Regions from separate parts of the Homo sapiens genome. Here regions 2, 3 and 4 are each linked to region 1. Evidence: promoter capture Hi-C in 16 types of primary human blood cells and fetal thymus (Javierre and others, 2016). All regions are on one chromosome and are shown on one strand. The core of a region is centred on a gene start or on the middle of the fragment in contact, and the rest is flanking DNA. Distances in the headings are between cores, read along the strand shown. Region 1 holds the start of UPF3B (UPF3B regulator of nonsense mediated mRNA decay). Region 2 overlaps STEEP1 (STING1 ER exit protein 1). Region 3 has its middle 44 kb from the start of SLC25A5-AS1. Region 4 has its middle 23 kb from the start of SLC25A5-AS1.

Region 1 (3,177 bases), core at 678-3,177:
CTGGCAACTGACAAACAGCTGGTGGTTTAAAGCTAGTGAGGACACCAAAACAGAGGCATACACTACCAACATGCAAGTGCAGAGCTAAGCAGTAGGTCAGAGGCAGATGCATAAACAAGGCTCATAAGAACGGCCAGGTACTGAAAGCAAGAGTAACAGATGTCAAATACAGGGAAACCGTTTTAGCCACAGGAATAGGAATCCAAGAATAGGCTGGACAATTGGAGTGAGAAAATTTAAGTGCAGAGTCAGGGGAATATATTCTAGAGGTCGGCAAAAATGGGAGTTGGCCCTTAGGCAGCTTTCTGCCTTGGGCTCCTATTGCATCTTTAATTTGGTTTCTGTCCTCTATGGGTGTCTGTGTCTCTCTCTCTTTTTGAGATGGAGTCTCACTCTGTCACCCAGGTTGGAGTGCGGTGGCACAACCTCGGCTCACTGCAACCTCCGCCTCCCAGGTTCAAGTGACTCTCCTGCCTCAGCCTCCCAAATAGCTGGGACTACAGGCGCCTGCCACCATGCCCAGATAATTTTTGTATTTTAGTAGAGACAGGGTTTCACCAAGTTGGCCAGGCTGGTGTCGAACTCCTGATCTCAGGTGATCCGCCGGCCTCGGCCTCTCAAAGTGCTGGGATTACAGGAATGTGCCACCACGCCCTGCTAATTTTTTTTGTTTTTAGTAGAGACAGGGTTTCGCCAAGTTAGCCAGGCTGGTCTCGAACTCCTGACCTCAGGTGATCCACCCACCTTGGCCTCCTAAAGTGCTGGGATTACAGGCGTGAGCCACCACGCCTGGCCGACTGATCTGCTTTCTATCACTGTGGTTTTATTTTTCTAAAATTTCATATAAATGGAATTGTACAACATGTACTCTGTGTCTAGATTCTGTCACTCAACATAATCACTGTTAGATTCACATTTGGATTGTTTCCAGTTTGGAGTTATTATAAATAATGTAAAATTGGCCCTTTTTAAGTGAAGATGGTGATCGCAACTAAATCAAGTTGGGTTTTATTTTTATTCCCCTCCCTGTGGGACATCAGTACCTGGGGAGAAGGATCCTTTTGCTAAAATAAGGTGATGAAAACAAATCTTGTATATTTTAGTCATATTACTCCTTTAAATATCAGTATCTTGTGTTTATTTATTATTATCCTTCTTTTTTATATACAGGGTCTCGCTCTGTCGCCCAAGCTGGAGTGCAGCGGCGCGATCATGGCTCACTGCAGCCTCGAATTCCTGGGCTCAAGATCCTCTCTTCTCAACCTTCCCGAGCAGCTGGGACTACAGGCGTGCGCCACTGAACTCGGCTAATATTGTAGTATTTACTAAGTATCTGTAAATCCTAATCAATATAAGGAAAATAAAGTTTTTTAAATGTTAGGCTTTTTCTTTTAGTTGTAGGAAAATAAATGCTAAAGCCTCTGAATTCAATGATAAAAAATACAAGTCGCTCCCCTAGTGAGGCAAAATTTGGACGGCATTGAGTTTATCTGATGGAAACTAAGCGTGAAGAACCTATCTTTCGACCTGGAAAACTCTGAAGATGAAAGGATTCGATTTACTCACAAACAGGGACCCTGAGATAGCTCTGGCCCCTGAACGCCCAACAAAAGCGGGTAGCTGCTTTGTATGCCGGGATTTGTAGTCCCCGACAGAGTCACTTCAAGATGGCGGAATTGCTAATGACGCGCGAAGGGGCGGGCCCCGAGGGAGTCTGGGCCGCGAGGGGATTGGGTGGCGCAGGAACTTGGCGGGCGGGAAGTAAAAACCAGGTGTTAAAACCTTTGCACTGGGAAAGGCCCAAGTCTCGCGAGAGCTTGGCAGGACCCAATGGAACGTGGGGCCCGACTTATCACAAGGGGCATTTGTTGGGGGCGGAGCTTTGACGGGAGCTTCCCGGGAGCCGTTTGTGCCCGGGGTAACCCCGTTCCGGCCAAGCCGCTTCAGCGGGGGACGTAGCCATGAAGGAAGAGAAGGAGCACAGGCCTAAGGAGAAGCGAGTAACCCTGTTAACCCCCGCCGGGGCCACAGGCAGCGGTGGTGGGACCTCGGGGGACAGCTCCAAGGGGGAAGATAAGCAGGATCGCAACAAGGAGAAGAAAGAAGCGCTGAGCAAGGTGCCCGGTCGGCCGCTGGCCCGGGAGAGGGCGGGACGAGTCCGCAGCGCGGGGAGGATGGCTGGGAATGGGGCTGCCCCCTTTCTTTCTCAGGTTCTCCTTCTATCTCTTCGCCTGAATGGAAGTCGCATCATCCTGGTTCATCCATTCACCCGAAATGGGGAGAGCCCCTCCCGGCCAAATCCTGGGTGGGGGTGAGGAAAAGAGGGGACTCCCCAAACGGGAAGGGTTTAGGTCAGAGCTGTGAGATGATAATGGGAGGGAAGAGCGACGGTATAAAGAATGAGGAACTAAAGGTGTAATTGGGGAGAAATATTAAATAGTGAAGGAGACATGAGGGATGGGAATATTATTCATGGAGGCGAGTTGGGGGAGAGTGCAGGGTGATTAATGGTACAGGAGGGTAGATCGAGAGCATCCTATTTTGAGAGCAATGGGTAGATTTTTTGTATTCGTTAGAGTTTTGAATTCTTAAGTTCAATGGGCAAGGATTTTGTTTTAAGATGTGTTGGACGTGGGAGAAACTTGTTGCTAAATCAAGATTTCGTGGCACCCACAAAGACCAGCGTTGGCTTACTAAGTTATTGCCACTAGATCTGTTAAAAAATGGGTGATCGAAAATGATGCACAAACCTGGTAAACTGCAGGGCTGCTGTAAAGAGCAAAACCTGCGATTTTTCCTTGCTCCAGGTGGTTCTCATTTCCAAGGGTTTTTTTAAACCGCGTTACTATTATGTTTGACTAATTCTGAGCATTGGGCTGCAGAAGAATATTTTCTCCTGGGTTTTTACAAGTGATCTCATATTTTAAAGCCCAGCCTTCTTCAGGAACTGTGATTCTTTCAGGTATGACAGAAAACTGATTTGTACTAATTTTATTTTCCTTATGCATTTCTTAAGGTGGTAATTCGAAGATTACCTCCCACTTTGACCAAGGAGCAGCTTCAGGAACATCTTCAACCTATGCCTGAGCATGATTATTTTGAGTTTTTTTCTAATGATACGAGGTAAAAAAAAAAAAAAAAGGAAAGGGGTAAATGAAAAAGGTTTCTTTCATTCTT
Region 2 (2,929 bases), core at 82-2,581, 300 kb after region 1:
TCCCACCATCATCCCCTGCATACATCTAGTCACTCACCATGTACTGTCGATTCTGCCTTCTAATCTCTTTTGTGGCTGCTGCCTCCTGTTCAGCCCTGCTGCACTGCCGTTATTTCAGTACCCAAAATCACTTACTTAGACTACTGAAGTGGCCTCTTACCTGGTCTTTTGGTCTCTAGTTTTGCTCTCCTCCAGTCTATCCTCTACTGCTTGAATTATCTGAAATACACATTATGTCAGTCACCTGCTTCAAATCTGTTAGTGACCCTTCATCACTTATAGCAATGCCTTTGAAACATTTTTAGATGAAAAATCCTTTCTTTAATTAAATTCTTACCCAGAAGTATAAATAAGACTGATAAGCAGAAAGCTGCTCTGAGTGGGGAGGAGTCTAGCCCAATCCATTAAGGACTCCTCCTTCCTCCCCATCTGATTTCATTTAGGGATCATTGTGGAGTACAAGGAAAACACTCCTAGTTGGCTGGATAAAAATATAAGCCTGAATGCGCTCTATGATCTGTCCATCTTCATCTTCTGGTACTCTCTTGATTTTTTTTTTTTTAAAGAACAAACATTTATCATTTTATGTATTTTCTGTGGGTCAGGAATTCAAGAGCAAGCTTAGCTAGGTGATTCTGGTCTCTCATGAAGCTGCGATTAAGAAGATGACTATGTAAACAGTCATCTGAAGTCTTTTTTTTTTTTTGAGGCAGGGTCTCACTCTGTCACGCAGGCTAGAGTGCAGTGGCACAATCACAGCTCACTGCAGTCTCGATCTCCTGGGCTCAAGTGATCCTCCCACCTCAGCCTCCTGAGTAGCTGGGACCATAGGCATGTGCCACCATGCCTGGCTAATTTTTAATTTTTTTTTGTAAAGACAGGGTCTTCCTATGTTGCCCAGGCTGTTCTTGAACTCCTAGGCTCAAGCAATCCCCCTGCCTTGTCCTCCCAAAATGCTGGGATTACAGGTGTGAGCCACCGTGCCTGGCCTGAAATCTTGATTAGGGCTGGAGAGTCATCTTCCAAGGTGTCTCATATGGTAGGCAGTTGAGTGCTAACTGTTGGCAAGAAGCCTCAGTTTCTCAACACAGGGATCTTTCCATAAGGCTGCTTGAGTATCCTCATGACATGGCAGCTGGCTTCCCATAATGTAAGTAATTCAGGAGAGCAAGGCAAAAGCCGCAATGTGTTTTATGGCTATGACTCAGAAGGCACACACAGTTGTTTCTGTGATGTCCTTTTGGTGTCACAAGTCAGCGCTATTCATTGTGGGAGGTGACTATACAAGGGTGTTAGTACCAGGGACAAGGATCATTGGGGGCCACCTTAGAGGCTAGCTACCACAGCCAGAATGGAGAATTTTTTTTCTTGAGATGAAGTCTCACTCTGTTGCCCAGGCTGGAGTGCAGTGGCGCAATCTTGGCTCACTGCAACCTCCACCTCCTGGGTTCAAGTGATTCTCCTGCCTCAGCTTCCCGAGTAGCTGGGATTACAGGCATGCACCACCATGCCTGGCTAATTTTTGTATTTTTAGTAGAGACGGGGTTTCACTGTGTTGGCCAGGCTGGTCTCGAACTCCTGACCTCAAATGATCCACCCGCCTTGGCCTCCCAAAGTGCTGGGATTACAGGCGTGAGCCACCGTGCCCGGCCGAGAATGTTTTGTTTTGTTTTTGGTCACAGAGTCTTCCCTATCTCATATATTCCTTGAGATTCAGGATAGGAAAGAAAATCAAGGTCAATTATCCCAAACATCTAGCTCATATTAATCACTTCTTTAAGTCATACCACTTGAAATTCTTACCTCATTTACATTAAAGTCTCACTATTTCAATAAGATGAACTTTTTGAGAGCAGGAACCCTGCCTTATTTTTCTGAAACCCTTAGGACAGACATCTTGCCTGCTTCTTGGCACATAGTTAGAAATAGATACATTTTTATAAACTTGACAAAATCCAGTTTGTCATTGGTACTTGAAGATTAACTCATTGAGAAATATGCGGCCCCATTTATTTGATATTTCTATGTGTTTTGAAAGCTTGAACTTACGGGATTGGCCGACTTCAGGATTCTAGGGGAAGTTCATTCTCTGTATGGTGAATCTCTCCCTTCAGTATGGGGTTGAATTTAGTCCCAGTGGGACCAGAGAGGGTATATAGAACCAAAAATATTATTAGTGCCCTGGTCCAGTGATGTCAATGAATTGGAGCACCTTTGACATAAGTAATACTTGTAAATGGAGAGGCAGAACATTAAAGATGATGGTCAGCACAGTCTGTATAGTTATATCCCAAGCAGTACCACTTTGTGACTTTGGGCAAGTAATCTTTTAGGCCCCCAATTTCCTTATCCTTCAATTGGGAAAATAATACCCATGTGTTGTCAAAGAGCAACTGGAAGTCTCCTACAGTACCAGAAAGACCACAAATAGTTATAATGACTTTGGAAAGTACTTTGGCAACATCCAGTATAGCTAAAGGTGCATATAATGTGTGCCTTATAAATTCTGCTTTTCATGTACACCTTAGCAAAGTGATTCTCAACCTTTGCTGTGTGCCAGAATCATCTGGAGGAGTTTTTTGTTTGTTTGTTTGTTTTAATGCGAATGCCTCAGCTTTACCCTCAGAGATTTCGTTTCTGTTTTCCACTTTTTTTTTTTTTTTGAGACAGTCTCACTCTGTTACATAGGCTGGAGTGCAACGGCGCGATCTCCGTTCACTGTAACCTCCGCCTCCCAGGTTCAAGTAATTCTTCCACCTCAGCCTCCTGAGTAGCTGGGATTACAGGCACCCGCCATCATACCTGGGTAATTTTTGTAGAGACAGGGTTTCACCATGTTGGCCAGGCTGGTCTTGAACTCCTGACCTCAGGTGATCTGCCCACCTCAGCCTCCCAAAGTGCTGGGATTACAGGTGTGAGCCACCACACC
Region 3 (3,191 bases), core at 44-2,543, 340 kb after region 1:
GGCTGGAGTGCAGTGGTGCGATCTTGGCTCACTGCAACCTCTGTGTCCTGGGTTCAGGCGATTCACATGCCTCAGCCACCAGAGTAGCTGGGACGACAGGAGCCTACCACCACGCCCGGCTAATTTTTGTATATTTGTAGAGAGGCGTTTCGCCATGTTGACCAGGCTGCTCTCAAACTCCTGGCCTCAGACGATCCACTCACCTCAGCCTCCCAAAGTGCTGGGATTACAGGCGTAAGCCACCGTGCCTGTGGCTGAACTATTTAATAAATGATGAAGTATTGAATAAAAACCCCTTCAATTGGCACCCCTCTCATGTGGCCCTTGCCTGTCTGGTTCCATCGCCCCCGCCCCATCTAGCACTTTATATTCTAGCACAACTGGGCTACTTGAAGTGCTTTGAACATGCTTCATTTTGTCATGTCTTGGGGCCTCCTTTGCATATGTTCTTCTCTCTGCAAAGCTGCCTTGTTCCTCCCTGGTTACTCTTCCCTCCCCCACCCCTTATTTAATCTTCAGGTGTCTTTACAAGTGTCCCTGACTCTCTGAGGTTGACTTAGGCCCTCGCACTTCCTCTCCTCTTTACAGACATCCACTGGATCTCTTGCAGCCTATCCAGTGCCTCTCTTTCTGTGTCTGTCTTTCTATGAGACTGAGTTCCTTGAAGGCAACAGTTTCATCCTGTAATCCCACGACCTGGCACAAGGTTTGGTGCTTGGTTGCCACTTATTAAGTGCTTGTTGGATGAATGAGTCAGTGGAGTGCAAGTAGACAGCAGGAGAAAAGGAAACGAGGTTTGACGGGAGACAGGAGGCTCTTTGGTATCTGACAGACCCAGATTATCCCAAAACACAATCTGCTGTGATCTCTTAATTTCTCTGCATTACAAAAGAAGCACAAAGGATCCAGAGCCTGTGGAACCCTGCCTTGTGCCTGGGCCAGGCATATAAGACCCTTGCCCAACTGTGCAATGATGGTTTCTACCTGTGTCTATGGACTCTGTGGGTGTCTAAGAGGTAGGGCCACCCACCCAAACGTTTTGTTAACTGACTTATATGGAAAGAGGAGAAAGAGAATCCTGACAATGCTCACTGCTTCTGCAACTGCTTGTATAATACAGTCACATCTGTCAACCCCACGTGCTGCAAAAAGATTCCAGGAATCCTGAGATGTTGCTGCTCTCAGCCTTTGGGGTAGCTGGGCTGAGCCTGGGGCAGCTCTGGCCACAAGAAGCCTCCTTCTTTGTGCAACACAAATACCATTTTCTGTGTCTGCTGCAGACTTAAAAAGGTTAATGAGCACTGTTGGATAATATCTAATCATTCTGGTCAGGTACTGCAATTTTGTGAGTGCCCACCTGGGACCTTGGCATCTTGAATTTACCCATATATTTCCCCCCAATTAAAGCCTTTTCTCGGCCGGGCGCGGTGGCTCACACCTGTAATCCCAGCACTTTGGCAGGCCGAGGCGGGCGGATCACGAAGTCAGGAGTTTGAAACCAGCCAGACCAACATGGTGAAACCCCATCTCTACTAAAAATACAAAAATTAGCCAGGCGTGGTGGCACGTGCCTGTAATCCCAGCTACTCAGGAGGCTGAGGCAGGAGAATTGCTTGAATCTGGGAGGCGGAGGTTGCAGTGAGCCAAGATCGTGCCGCTGCACTCCAGCCTGGACAACAGAGCGAGACTCTGTCTCAAAAAAAAAAAAAGTATTTTCTCATGTTTTCAAGTAGGACAGGGATATTTGTTTATTCCCCATTGTATAGGTGAGGAAACCAAGGCGCAGCGAGGTCAAGAGACCAGCACACTCCAGCATTGTCAGAGACAAATCAAACTGAGGAGCTGGCTGAAGCCCGCACCCTCTGAGGCTGTCCAGCTGCAGTGCATTTACACTCTGCCCACAAGAGGTCAGTAGGTTCCACAGGAGCAGAGCTGGCTACAGGGAGGCCCGCACAATGAAAGGTGGAGCCATCCTCCCTGAGAGCAGCCCTGGTTACTGGCTGCACAGCAGCTACCTAGAAGGAAATCCTTCTAACAACAGGTTTTCCAAGAAGTCCTTCTTCCAGGGGTGGACCAGCGGTTGGGGCTGGCCAACGGTGTGTATCCTGGGAGGGCTGTGGGAGTTCCCAGGGGCAGCTGCTTTATTATATTGCAATCCTCAGGGTTTGATAAGCTATTTGTGGAGGGCGGTGTCTGTAGATGGGGCAGCTGGCGTGCTTCCATCTGCCTAGAAAGCTGCAACCATCTCCACGGTAATAACTGGAACCAAAAATATCACACGGCTGTCTGCTAGGCCAGAACGTTCCTGTCTGTCTGCTCTCTGGAGGCTGAGGGTGGAGGAGACTTAAAAAGCCATATATTGCCGGGCACTGTGGCTCACGCCTGTAATCCCCACACTTTGGGAGGCCGAAGTGGGTGGATCACTTGAGGCCAGGAGTTTGAGACCAGCCTAGGCAACATGGTGGAACCCCGTGTCTACCAAAAAAGACAAAAATTAGCTGTGTGTGGTGATGCACGCCTGTAGTTCCAGCTACTGGGGAGGCTGAGGCACGAAAATCACTTGAACCCGGGAGGCAGAGGTTGCAGTGAGCAGAGGTCATGCCACTGCACTCCAGCCTGGGTGACAGAGCAAGACTCCATCTCAAAATAAAATAAAATAATAAGATATATATATTTCTATATATTTCTATATATATATTTCTATATATAGAAATATATATATTTTTATATATATATATAGCATCCCCAAGATTTAGAATCAGACAGACCTGGGTTTGAATCTTGATTTTTCTTCTTATTAACTGTGACCTCAGGCAAGTGGCTTAACTTCTCTAGGCCTCAGTCTCCTCATTAATAGAATGGGGAATAATAATACCTGCTTTTCTGGCTGTTCTGAGGATTTATTCACTCATTTGAAAGATAGTGGCATGCCTGTCCTACAGTTGTTACTAGGTTCAGGGGATACAAGAGATTCAACGCCTGGCACATAGTAAGTGCTGAATTAATGATAACTTGTTTTTGAAGGTCATGCCACGAATTTGGACTCAAAATAGCAGGCAGTTGAAAGCATTCTGAAAAGAGAAGTAGTAAGAAAAAAACACTACTTTTTTTTTTTCTTTCTCAGGCAGGGTCTCACTGTTGCCCAGGCTGAGTGCAATGGCACAATCATAGCTCACTGCAGCTTCGACCTC
Region 4 (3,142 bases), core at 189-2,688, 360 kb after region 1:
AGCGATTCTCCTTGCCTCAGCCTCTCAAGTAGCTGGGATTACAGGCACCCGCCACAACGCCCAGCTAATTTTTTTTGTAATTTTAGTAGAGACGAGGTTTCACCATGTTGGCCAGGCTAGTCTCGAACTCCTGACCTCGTGATCCGCCTGCCTCGGCCTCCCAAAGTGCTGGGATTAGAGGCATGAGCCACCGCGCTTGGCCCCAGGTAAAATTTTGATAAGCTCATGAAAATTTCAACTAGAGAGTTCAGGCACCCATGGCTGGGATGAGGGCAACAAATCTGGAGCAACAAACATGCAACCAACAAGCTTTTTTTGACAGCATACTTTTGTTTGGCACTCCTCTACGCACTGGGATACAAATATGAGTAAGAATGCTACCACCTAAAATAATAGATGCCTGGATAGGCATAGCTTATCTCTGGAAGGTAACACCAGAATGTGGTCATGGAGATTACCTGTGGGTGGCGAGGGAACAGGGGTGGGAGGGAAACTAACTTGTTACTGTAAACCCTTTATACCTTGTCAATTTGGTATCCGAGGATATATTACCAATATATTACCCATTCAAAAGATAAATGTGGTATCAGGGAGACACAAATACGTAAATGTGTAAATAGAGAAGTAAATAGCAGCATCAGCTCACAAAAGCATGTTCACAGTGCTAGAGTTATTGACAACAATGGAGGAACCATGATATAAAGACTGAATTTACTAGCCCAGGCATGATGGCTCACGCCTGTAATCCCAGCACTTTGGAGGCCCAGGCCGGCAGATCGCCTGAGGTCAGGAGTTCGAGACCAGCCTGGCCAACATGGAGAAACCCTGTCTCTACTAAAAATACAAAAATTAGCCGGCCGTGGTAGCTCATGCCTGTAATTCCAGCTACTTGAGGGGCTGAGGTGGGAGGATCACTTGAGCCTGGGCTATCGAGGCTGCAGTGAGTTGAGATTGTGCCACTGCACTCCAGCCTGGGAGACAGGAGTGAGACCCTGTCAAAAAAAAAAAAAGACCAAATTTACCAATTTGGTTTCCTGGCTTAGGACAGAATTGAGGCTTCAGCCATGATAGTGACGTCTAAGAAGTCCCTCTACCTCTAGCCAGAGGTCCTGGCTAGAAGAAAAAAAAAAAAGTATGTTTTCTTGTCTTTTTCCAAACACATCACAAGAGCAATATATAACCTGACAAGAATGCAGGGGCAGGTAAGACCTGCCTAAGGCTGAAGGAGTTTTGTCCTTCCATAGGCATTGGCCTCCTCCTCCCCTCACAGACAAAGGTGACTGTGTCAGTAACAACTATTTACCTTGCAAGCACATACCTGTGCCTAGCCAGACCTACTCCCTTGCATAGAGAAGTGATTCCTGACAGACTCTGCATCCAACTGGTCTTGGGGCAATGCCACCTGCTCACTCTAGCCTAAACCTGCTGAGGAGCTAGCACAATCCTGAGAAAAAGGGTCAAGAAATCACGTTCTGGCCGTTGAGTGGTGGCTCACTCCTGTAATCCCAACACTTTGGGAAACTGAGGCAGGAGGATCACTTGAGGCCAGGAGTTCAACACCGCAGTGAGCTCTGATCACACCACTGCACTCTAGCCTGGGCAACAGTGAGACCCTGTTTCAAAAAAAAAAAAAAAAAGAATAAGAAGTGGATAACTCGATTATCCACAGGTGGATTGTTTTTTTCTGGATTATAGGCTGACAATTTATTATTATTATGTATGTATTTATTTATTTATTGCGAGACAGAGTCTCACTCTGTCACCCAGGCACGATCTTGGCTCACGGCAACCTTTGCCTCCCGGGTTCAAACAATTCTTCTGCCTCAGCCTCCCAAGTAGCTGGGACTACAGGCACCTGCCACAACATTTGGCTAATTTGTGTATTTTTTAGTAGAGACAGGGTTTTGCCATGTTGGCCAGGCTAGTCTCAAACTGCTGACCTCAACTGATCCACCTGCCTCTGCCTCCCAAAGTGGTACGATTACAGATGAGAGCTACCGTGCCGGGCCTATGCTGACAGTTTTTAATCCTGGCCTGATTTTCCCTCATATACCCCTCCCCCAGGCTACCTTTAGACTTCCTTTATCCAAAGCCCAGTGGGTCTACTAGGGAAATAATGTCATGATAACTATGACTGCCACCCTTTATTGAATGCTTCCAGGGGCCAGACATCAGGCTGTGTTATATGTATTAGTCTTCATGCAATCCTCACAGATACCCAATGAGAAAGGTATTCTGGCTATATCTGTGTTTTGCAGATGAAGAAACTCAGGGAGATAAACAGCTAGCAAATGGTGGTGATTGGACTGAAAACCAGACTGTGTGGCTGAGCGCCCATACCACTGGTCTATAAAGGCTCTTAACCACTCTCCTATTCTGCATCCCATAAAGTTAATTTTAATTAGCCCAATCCAGCTCTATTTAGGAAGAGAAATATGCTGCCAAAAATCACTTACAATATCCAAAAGCTAAATATAAAAGGCTTTTCTATTATCACTTGTTTGGGGCTATTTAGGCCAAGGCTTCCTTCCAAGGGCCTGTGTAACCAAGGGTTATATGGAAGCTTAGCATCTGGGCAAACAGGAAATGAGCCCAGCTCTGCTGGCTCTGTCAGCGCCCTAAAAAGATCTACTCACGGGGGAAGTTAAACTTATAGAACCAGGATGGGCCAGGTGCGGTGGCACACACCTGTAATCCCAACACTTTGGGAAGCTGAGGTGGGCAGATCACTTGAGGTCAGGAGTTCGAGACCAGCCTGGCCAACATGGCAAAACCCTGTCTCTACTAAAAATACAAAAATGTAGCTGGGTATGGTTGTGTGTGCCTGTAGTCCCAGCTACTTGGGAGCAGGAGAATCGCTTGAACCCGGGAGGTTGAGGTTGTAGTGAGCTGAGATAGCGCCACTGCACTCTGGCCTGGGTGACAGAGCAAGACTCTGTCTAAACAAACAAACAAACAAAAAAACAAAACCCAGCATGGAAATGAAAACCTTAGACCGGGCTCTGAGATCAGAAATGTCAAGAATAGCCTTCCAGTTTACTGTCCCTGGGGTGGGGAGTTTGGGGGTGGTGGGGGGACAAATGCCCGGGATGAGCATTTTGTAGTTGATAGCTGAGGGTTTTGTGGGCTGGCTTCTGGGTCC

What was found. The method cuts DNA at HindIII sites, captures the fragments that hold promoters and counts their contacts. A CHiCAGO score of 5 or more calls a contact.
Region 2: a fragment that was not itself captured here is called in contact with the fragment with the promoter of UPF3B in region 1 in 1 of 17 cell types (non-activated CD4 T cells); the score reaches 5.4 in non-activated CD4 T cells.
Region 3: a contact is called between a fragment that was not itself captured here and the fragment with the promoter of UPF3B in region 1, in 6 of 17 cell types (non-activated CD4 T cells, total CD8 T cells, monocytes and 3 more). The highest score is 10.3, in non-activated CD4 T cells.
Region 4: a contact is called between a fragment that was not itself captured here and the fragment with the promoter of UPF3B in region 1, in 6 of 17 cell types (total B cells, fetal thymus, activated CD4 T cells and 3 more). The highest score is 7.8, in total B cells.

Annotation. Positions count from the first base shown.
Region 1 is chrX:119,851,713-119,854,889 of GRCh38, reverse strand. It overlaps UPF3B (UPF3B regulator of nonsense mediated mRNA decay), which reads left to right and starts at 1,927. Exons shown (of 11, transcript NM_080632.3): 1 at 1,927-2,117; 2 at 3,017-3,123. The coding sequence starts at 1,962. RefSeq lists an enhancer at 1,893-1,952. The HindIII fragment of the contact is 8,775 bases long and covers 1-3,177 here.
Region 2 is chrX:119,552,886-119,555,814 of GRCh38, reverse strand. All of the region lies in intron 2 of STEEP1 (STING1 ER exit protein 1), which reads left to right. Among named protein-coding and RNA genes, the nearest start is that of STEEP1, 11 kb to the left of the region's middle. The HindIII fragment of the contact is 1,418 bases long and covers 623-2,040 here.
Region 3 is chrX:119,511,384-119,514,574 of GRCh38, reverse strand. No RefSeq gene overlaps it. Among named protein-coding and RNA genes, the nearest start is that of SLC25A5-AS1, 44 kb to the right of the region's middle. RefSeq lists a silencer at 1,755-2,049. The HindIII fragment of the contact is 4,998 bases long and covers 1-3,191 here.
Region 4 is chrX:119,490,881-119,494,022 of GRCh38, reverse strand. No RefSeq gene overlaps it. Among named protein-coding and RNA genes, the nearest start is that of SLC25A5-AS1, 23 kb to the right of the region's middle. The HindIII fragment of the contact is 2,254 bases long and covers 312-2,565 here.